3 separate regions of the Homo sapiens genome follow, and all the other regions are linked to region 3. The links are contacts of gene promoters, found by promoter capture Hi-C in blood cells and fetal thymus (Javierre and others, 2016). All regions are on one chromosome and are shown on one strand. Each heading gives the region's core, a stretch centred on a gene start or on the middle of the fragment in contact. The rest is flanking DNA. Distances are from core to core; before and after follow the strand shown. Region 1 has its middle 23 kb from the start of LINC00208. Region 2 overlaps BLK (BLK proto-oncogene, Src family tyrosine kinase). Region 3 holds the start of FAM167A-AS1 (FAM167A antisense RNA 1).

The links. The method cuts DNA at HindIII sites, captures the fragments that hold promoters and counts their contacts. A CHiCAGO score of 5 or more calls a contact.
Region 1: a contact is called between a fragment that was not itself captured here and the fragment with the promoter of FAM167A-AS1 in region 3, in 1 of 17 cell types (naive B cells). The highest score is 5.5, in naive B cells.
Region 2: a fragment that was not itself captured here is called in contact with the fragment with the promoter of FAM167A-AS1 in region 3 in 1 of 17 cell types (M2 macrophages); the score reaches 5.6 in M2 macrophages.

The regions. Positions count from the first base shown.
Region 1 is chr8:11,597,975-11,601,052 of GRCh38, forward strand. No RefSeq gene overlaps it. Among named protein-coding and RNA genes, the nearest start is that of LINC00208, 23 kb to the left of the region's middle. RefSeq lists an enhancer at 1,464-2,300. The HindIII fragment of the contact is 6,914 bases long and covers 1-3,078 here.
Region 2 is chr8:11,537,984-11,540,906 of GRCh38, forward strand. The region is part of intron 1 of BLK (BLK proto-oncogene, Src family tyrosine kinase); the gene reads left to right. Among named protein-coding and RNA genes, the nearest start is that of BLK-AS1, 19 kb to the right of the region's middle. RefSeq lists a silencer at 181-345 and an enhancer at 1,028-1,107. The HindIII fragment of the contact is 1,866 bases long and covers 634-2,499 here.
Region 3 is chr8:11,367,117-11,370,049 of GRCh38, forward strand. FAM167A-AS1 (FAM167A antisense RNA 1) reads left to right here and starts at 1,286. Exons shown (of 7, transcript NR_026814.1): 1 at 1,286-1,336. It also overlaps the pseudogene TDH. The HindIII fragment of the contact is 6,691 bases long and covers 1-2,933 here.

The DNA of each region.
Region 1 (3,078 bases), core at 499-2,998, 230 kb after region 3:
GACGTGCCCAGGAAGCTGCCTGCATTTCACCTGCATCTTTTAAATGGTGGAGGCTTGGGGACATTCTCTACCCCCAACCCCTCCTTATAGCCTGACCTGAGCTTTACAGTCAGCATGATCTGCCTGGGCTCTGTTAAGGAATGAATTGTGTCCCTCAAAATTCACATGCTGAAGCCCTAAGCCCCTGACCTCAGAATGTGACTGTACTTGGTCTTTGGGGGTAAAGTAAAATGAGGTCATGTGGGTGGGCCCAAATTCAATATGGCTGGTGTCCTCATAAGGAAAGGAGATTGGCTGGGTGTGGTGGCTCATGCCTGTAATCCTAGCACTTTGGGAGGCCGAGGTGGGTGGGTCACATGAGGTCAGGAGTTCAAGACAAGCCTGGCCAACATGGTGAAACCCTGTCTCTACTAAAAACACAAAAATTAGCTGGATGTGGTGGTGCATGCCTGTAATCCCAGCTACTCGAAGGCTGAGGCAGGAGAATCGCCTGAACCTGGTAGGTGGAGGTTGCAGTGAGCCAACATCTCTCCACTGCATGCGTGGGTGACAGAGCAAGACTCTGTCTTAAAAAAAAAAAAAAAAAAAAAAAAAAAGGAGATTAGGGTCTGGGTTTCATGGCTCAAGCCTGCAATTCCAGCATTTTGGAAGGCCAAGGCAGGCAGGTCACCTGAGGTCAGGTGTTCGAGACCAGCCTGGCCAACATGGTAAAACCCCATCTCTACTAAAAATACAAAAATTAGCTGTGCATGGTGGTACCTACTCGGGAGGCTGAGGTAGGATAATCGCTTGAACCTGGGAGTTGGAGGTCGCAGTGAGCTGAGATCAAGCCACTACACTCCAGCCTGGGTGACACGGCAAGACTCTGTCTCAAAAATAATAATAATAAAAGAAAAGGAGATTAGGCCACAGAAACACAGAGGGATGACCATGTGAGGACACAGCAAGAATGTGGCCATCCACAAACCCAGGGGAGAGGCCTCAGGAGAAACCAACCCTGCCGGCACCTTGAGCTTGGACTTCTAGCCTCCAGAACAGTGAGAAGATGAACGGCTGGTGTTGAAGCCACCTGGTCTGTGGGACTTTGTCATGGCAGCCTGAGCTGATTAATGCAGGTTTCATGCCAGCTTCAATTCAATTCAAGAAATGCAAATCTCCCAGCCACTGTCCTCTAGGCATTAGGCTGGATAGTGTGGATTCAAAGAGGAAACCCTGGAGGAGGGCGTGCTTGAATACAGGATCTGAAAAGCTGGAGGAGAGAATTCATTTGCACAGGCCTCAGAAGACATACAGAGTGTGGCCTGGTGAATTAGGAGGGACTGTCAAGGAATTCTCCTCAGAGGAGGTGAAATAGGAGCAAATTTCGAAGGCATATTAAGGTTTGGCCCACCAGTCAGGCAGAGAGGGGGGAAGGATCACAGAGCAAAGTGAGCCGTGGGTGCAGAGACTGCCTGTGAAAAGGCACAGCTGCGTGGGTGGAATGGGTGGTGGGAGGCTCAGAACTGCTCCCTCTGCTTGTGCTGCTGTAACAAAATACCATAGATTGGGTAATTTATAAAGAAGAGAAATGGATTCCTCACAGTTCTGGAGGCCGGAAGTCTGAGATGAAGGGGCCGACACTGGTGTCTAGAGAGGGCTGCTCTCTGCTTCCATGGTGGCGCCTTCCTGCTGCGAGCTTACCTGGCGCATGCTCACCTGGCACCTTCTCACCTGGCGGGAGGGGGAAAGGCCTCAGCTGGCCCCGGACTGCCCCTTGATGAGGCATGAATCATTCATAAGGGAGGAGCCCTCACAGCCTCATCACCTCCTGAGGCCCTCACCCCTTTATACTGCCACCGTGGGGATTAACTTTCAGCATGAATTTTGGAGGGGACACATTCAAACGACAGCACTCTCCAAACTTGGTTTCTCCATCTGTAAATGGGATAATAATATCTCAGGCAGTTGGCATAAGGGTCAGCTGAGACAACAGGGAAAGAAGAATGTTTATGGCAAAGCACTCCCAGAGATGACTTCAGATGAAGCCATCACAAGCCTTCTGATTTTTCATTCAACTCACCCACCTCCCACCTGTAACCCTTATTTGGCACAGGAGTCCATCAAACCAGGCCAGGCACAATTGTTTTTTGTTTGTTTGTTTGTTTGTTTTGAGATAGGGTCTCACTCTGTCATCCAGGCCGGAACACAGTGGTGTGGTCAGGGCTCACCACAGCCTTGGACTCGTGGGCTCATGCGATCCTCCCTCCTCGGCCTCCTGAGTAGCTGGGACTACAGGTGCACACCACCACACTCAGCTAATTTTTGTATTTTTTTGTAGAGACAAGGTTCCATGTTACCCAGTTGGTCTCAAATTCCTGGGCTCAAGCAATCTACCGGCCTTGGCCTCCCAAAATGCTGGGATTACATGCGGGAGCCCCCAATGGCCAGCCGGATTGTTTTTAATAAACTTTCTATTTTAGCATAGATTTAGATTTATGGAAAAGCTGCAAAGATAGTACAGAGAGTTCCCACATTCCTCCACGCAGTTTCCATCATTGTTAACATCTTACATTAGTATGTTAAACTTGTCAAATTAATGCACCAATACTATTATTGATACGTTACTACAAACTAAAGTCCATATTTTTTCAGATACTTAGTTGTCACCTAATGCCCTTTTTTTTCTTCCATGACCCTGGAGTATATGTCATCATCATGCCTCCTGAGGCTCCTCTTGGCTGTAACCGTTCTAGCCTGATTTTTGAATTCCAGGACACGGCATTTGCTAAGAAATGTACCTATGTATAGAAGTAGGAATGAGGGAACAGTTGGAGGATTTTTGGAGAAAAGCACATTATTTTTCAGCATTGTATCATTTGGCGAATCAACAACACGTGTTTGTTACAAATGAGACTATCTGTTCGCTGAAGGAGCCCTAAAGAGCCTGTGTTTATGATATTCTCAGTTCACTTTATCCTTTGCACTAAAAAATACTGATTTACATGTGTACATACACATAGACACACGCACACACACGCAATTTTAGAATTCACTCGTGTGATAGCCCCAGTCCTTCCCAATAGCCTGTCTCTGGCCCCA
Region 2 (2,923 bases), core at 317-2,816, 170 kb after region 3:
CCTCCTCTTGCTGACTCCCCCGACTAGACACACATGCACACGGTGCACATGCATGCTCTCTCACACATGCATATACACGTGCACACATAGACACACACACACATATATACACACACATATTCAAGCACATACACACATGTGTATTCACACGCATGCTCTCGCTCTCACACACACACAAGTGCACATAAGTGTGTATGCTTCCTCTCCCACTCTCTCACAAACATACACAGACTCACACCCTTCCCACAATGCAGCAAAGCCATCTGGAGCCCCAGCCAGTGTGTGATGCGTTTTGCCTCTGTCTGGACTTCTGCACTTCCTGGCTTCACCCAACCTGAAACTGCTGGGTGCAGCCCGAGCACCAGTGACAGCCCTGGTTGTCCCATGGCCTCTTGAGGAACCCAGGTCTCCAGTCAAAGCCACTGGAGTAGGGGGACCCATAGAGACCTGAGGTACTCATGAGACCCATGGAAAATCATCTGCACACACACTGCTAAGGAGTCAAAGGACAGAAGTGTAAGTAGTGGGTCATTTAATCTTAGGAATTTTACTTTCTGTCCGGTTCTTTGTTCAATAAATTGAACAACCAATGTTCAATTATGTTGTCTCAGTGGACACAGGTGTTTGCCAGGAAGCTTAAAGTCAATGGCAATATGGCTGGCCAGACTAAGAAAGACAAGAGGGCTGGTCACCTGGGCAGATGCGGAAGTATGAGTCCAAGTCTGGGGAATATACTAGGAGCTGCTGACCACTGGCCCTTCGTTGAGTCAGGGAGGCTGAGAGAGGCCACGAAAGGCCTGAGGTTCAGGCAGCCCTGGCTGGCCACTTAACGGTCATTGTCAAGAACTGCAGGCTGGCCCTGGCTCCAGGCCTTATGCTCCTCTGTTGCTGGGCAAATCACTCAAATCCTCCTTTTATTTTTCTGCTTGTATCAATAATATATGCTTAGTATTAAAGAATTTAAGAAATATATACAATTAAAAGAAAGAAAGTCAAAGTCACATGAAGTCTTATAATCCAAAATCCATTTAGAAAATACTTTGGTGGGACCTGCTTTGCATTAGCACACACACCGTTTTTTAAGTCCGCTGGTTTTTTTTTTGTTTTGTTTTGCCTTACACCACACCTCTGTTTTGTACTCTCCCTTCCTCTAACAATAACCACAGTAAACAACTTGGTGTTCATCCTCCCCAGCCTCTTTCTGTGTAATATGCAAACATATCTACACGCCTGAATAGAGGTTTCTTTTCATTTGGTGTTTGCAAATATGGGATTCCCTCATGCACCTCTTTGGGTCTTACTTTTCTCGTGTAACAACATGGTACCGAAATTCCTCTTGACCTCACTGGTGAAGATCCAGCACATTTTTTTTAGTAGTTGTATGAGAGATTTATAGAGTGTAGATTTATTCAACAAGTCTTCAATTGCTGGGCAGTTACATTGTTGTTTTCTGTTTGGGATTTTTTTTCGGGGGAGGGGATTGTTTTTCCAACTATTACTACAACAAACATTTTCATCTCTCACATGTGTCTATATAATGATGTTTTATTAACCTGAGATAGTCCAGAGTGGGACTGAAAATCAAAAGGTATGTGTGCTTTTTTATTTTAACAGAATTTAAAAGATTGCCCTTTAAAAGAATTTAAAAGATTGCTTCTTCCAATAATATTTCATGTTTTGTCTAATAAATATTTATTAAGCCCACACTCTGTGCCAGACATTGGTTTAGCAATTTGGATTCAGCAATGAATAAAACAAAGATTCCAGCTCTCACAGAAGATTAATCCTAGAAATGGAGCGTGAAGGAACAAATGAAACAATAATTATAACAAACATTTTACTATTTGGGTTTGTGTTGCACTAACTTCCTATTTCTTATCTTTACACATTTTTCTATTGAATGAATTATATGCTGCAATATACTTCCTGTCAAAAGTTTATGAGCTTTGTATATATTATGAATACACATTTATCTGATGCTTTGCAATCTCTTACCCAATCTATTGCTTATCTACGAACTTCATGAGTAGTTTCTTATACCATCTAATATTTTTAATGTTTATGAATTTGTACTTTTTTTGTTCTCTCTTCGCTTCTGGGTATTTTATCTTTGTTAGTAGTTGTCTCCAAACTCTGGGTTATATACACAGTTTCTTACATTTCTTTTAATTACATTTTTGTTTTTTATTTTTTTCAGTCATACACCTAGAATTTATTTTTTAATATCATGTGAGGTAGGGGTTCAATTGTATTTTCCTTAAGGTAAATAGTCATTTTCCTAATACCATTTATTAAAATAAACTATCCACTTTCTACTGAATTAAAATGCTATCTTTTTCACATACGCGATTCCTGTATTTACCAAAATCTGTTTGTATGTTTTTTATTCTGCTCTGATGATTGTTGTCTACTTTTATTATTCCAATTTCATGCGGTTTTGATTACAATCTTCTATTTCATAATTATAAAGCTAGGTTAAGACTTAATTTAGTCATGTAAAGCTTCAGATGATTTTATGCAATTACAAATTATAATTTTAATTAAAAGAACATTCCATTTATATTAGGAACAAGAAAAACATCACAATCAAAAAAGAGAACAGAGTATAATAATTACAAGACAATGCTACATAAAACTATGGCAACAGATTGGAAAATGTAGATGAAATTAAAGATCTATAAACCATATAAATCATCAAAATGGCACAAAGAGGAGAAAAAATGGGAATAGATCATTCCTATAGAAGAAATTGGAAATGTCTTTAAAGATTTACTATTTGAAAGGGCCCCAGACACAGATGGCTTCACAACTGAGTTCTATTTAGCCTGTGAGGAACAGATAACCCCACTGTTATGAAACCACTCAAGAAGATAGAAAAAAAAAAAAAAGAGAGCTCCTCAATATCTGTTACAAAGCCAGCGCA
Region 3 (2,933 bases), core at 36-2,535:
ATAAGGTTTATGTTTGTAGATTTTATTTTTTTGTTATTTTTCTTTTGGGCTGCTCTTGAGAGGCAGGAAGATTTTATTTTTTAAAATCAGAAAGTTAGTAATGAATTCTTTTTTTGAAAGTTTGAGATATAGTTTACATACCATAAAATTCACTCATTTATAGTTCTGTGGTTTTCAATGTATTAAAAAGTTTTGCAACCATCACTATAATCTAATTTTAGGCCATTTCATCACCCCACAAAGAAATCATATTATATAAGCCCTTCCCACCCTCGGCAACCACTAATGTACTTCTTCTGTCCCTGGGTTTGTCTGTTCTGAGCATTTTATGTAAGTGGAATGTGGTTGTCTTTTAGTGGCTTCTTTAATTAAGCAGTCCATTTTCAAGGTTCATCCATGTTTTAGCATGTATCACTACTTCATTTTTTATTGCTAAGTAATATTCCATTGTATGAGTAATCCTCTTATTTTCTCTATCCATTCATCCATTGAGGGACATTTAGGTTTTTTGCACTTTTTAAGCTATTATGAATAATGCTGCTGTGAACATTTGGGTAGATAATTGAGTTTTAAAATGATTGCTTACTGTTTATAGTTTAAAAAACAGTTCTTAAGTTTGATTAATTTATTCTCAGTTATCTTAAAGGAACAAGCAATTCTTCCCTTTCATAAGATAAGAAGCAGCAACTCGAGTGACCTTTGTCTCCTAGACCCTAACCTTCCAGCATTTCTACCAGGCTCCTAGAATGACCTTTAATTCGGATCATTTGGAGGGGTTTGTTCCAAACAGGTTCCTTGAATCTTTCCCAATCTGTAAACACACCTCCAGGAGATCTCAAATAAGAGTGAAAAAATAATGAATGCTTCAGCTTCTTTGGATGATTCTTATTCACTGACATCTTTGTACTCCAAGACTAGAATTAGAGTTGTCCCTTCTGTCTGAACACTCAGTATCTGGTGCACATCTTGGGATCCCGGAGCCCATCAATGTTTTCCTGTAAAATGCTTTCCGTTCTGTTGGGAGAAAGGGTTTTTTATGATTAATTTGGAAATAACCCAAAAAGCTATTTGAAGGAAAAGTGGGTTTAACCACAAAAATAGTTTATTTATAAATAAAAAAGAAAGAATACAAAGATTGGCTTTGTTCTGATGTTTTACACAGGCTACCGGTGGTTATTAGTTTTCTGCTCACATGTTTGTGTGTGGCGTTGCTGGGATGTGCCTTGTGTTGCTACACAAACAGCGATCCCGAAGTCTGCCAGCAAGATAGATGGCCTGGAGTCCAGAACAGACTGGATTAGTGAAAGCTACTGCAGTGCTTTGGACACTTACTATGGTAGGTGGGAGATATTTAGTATTTTTTAATTCACATAGGCCAAATCACCAATTTGTGATTGTATTTTATGGTAAGGGTGTTCAGAAAATGCTTTAAATTCTGTCATTTTAAAAAAATGTTTATTAAGAGTTCAGACAATTTAAAAGATATATAATAAAGTTGTCTTCCCCTCCAAACCCAATCAATAACATGTTAGCAGTGTAGTGTGGGACCCAGTGCAGTGGCTCACACCTGTAATCAGTACTTTAGGAGGCTGAGGCAGGAGGATTGCTTAAAGCCAGGAGTTCAAGACCAGCCTGGACAACATAGCAAGACTCTCATCTCTACAAAAATAATTTAAGCCAGATGTGGTGATGCACACCTGTAGCTGCTACTCACGTGGCTGAAGCTGAGGGATCACTTGTAGCCAGGAGTTTGAGGCTGCAATGAGCTATGCTTGCGCCACCATACTCCAGCCTGAGCCACAGAGCGAGACCATCTCAAACAACAACACACAAAAAAACTAGTGTATACCTTTTATTTTCTCCTGTGCTTATACAATCTAGGAGTGGAAGGTGAAACCTTTTTCTTTTCTTTTACTATAAAAGTAGTGCTAAGACAATATTGTCAAAAGTTTTGGAAAAGACTCACTTTCAATTTTTGCCATGTCACATGGTAGCTGTTTTAAAATATTCTCCAGTCCTCTATGCGTTACAAAGAACTTACATGTAGTTTTAACATTTGCCATTTAAAGATAGCTGCATAACTCGTTGAATGGAGTATCATAATGATGTCATTCTATTTAATTGCTGAAACCTAGAAGTACAATTACTGGGTCACAGGGCGTAAACACCTACTTGCCTCTTCATTTTATGTGGTCAAATTTATCTTCGGAACGAGTTGGATTAATTTGTGATGAAATTCTCGACCATCAACACCTTCCTCTTGGCACATATTCATGGACCTCAGTATGGTTTACATTTGTTGAAAAGTTTTATTTTTGTGGCTGGGTGCAATGACTCATACTTGTAATCCCAGCACTTTTGGGAGGCTGAGGCAACAGGATCAGTTGAAAGTTTTATTTTTCTAAAAGGTTTGAAGAATATAAACTTCATTTTTTGCTGGAGAATCTTAACATTCTAATACAAGAGCCGTGAGTGAATAAATCCTAGATCTCACATAACCGGATGATAACTGCCTCTAAATCAGTGAATTGCTTCCAAAAATCACCGGTGAGAAAGGAATCTTGTTTTTTAATGATTTTTTTTTAGGGTAGTCACTTTAAAAAAAATTATTTCATGGCACTGTTTTTATAGCTTTAGTATGTTTGTCTATAAGGTAGCTAAACAGGCCACCCCTTACCTTCCAATGTGAAGATCCCAGAAAACTTTTTTTTAGCCAACTTACATATATAAAGTTTAGGATTGTAGATGAGAGGATAAAATAGACACCTGTACTATTAGTTGCAGGTGTTTCAGATTTGTTAATCTATTAACCAGCATGTGGGCTTTCCCTCTTCACATTCGCATTTCAGGCATGTCACTCCGACTTCGTATTTGATCTTGGTGCCCCCTTTGGCATCCCCTAATAGGTTAAGAGCAGATGATCTTTTTTCTTT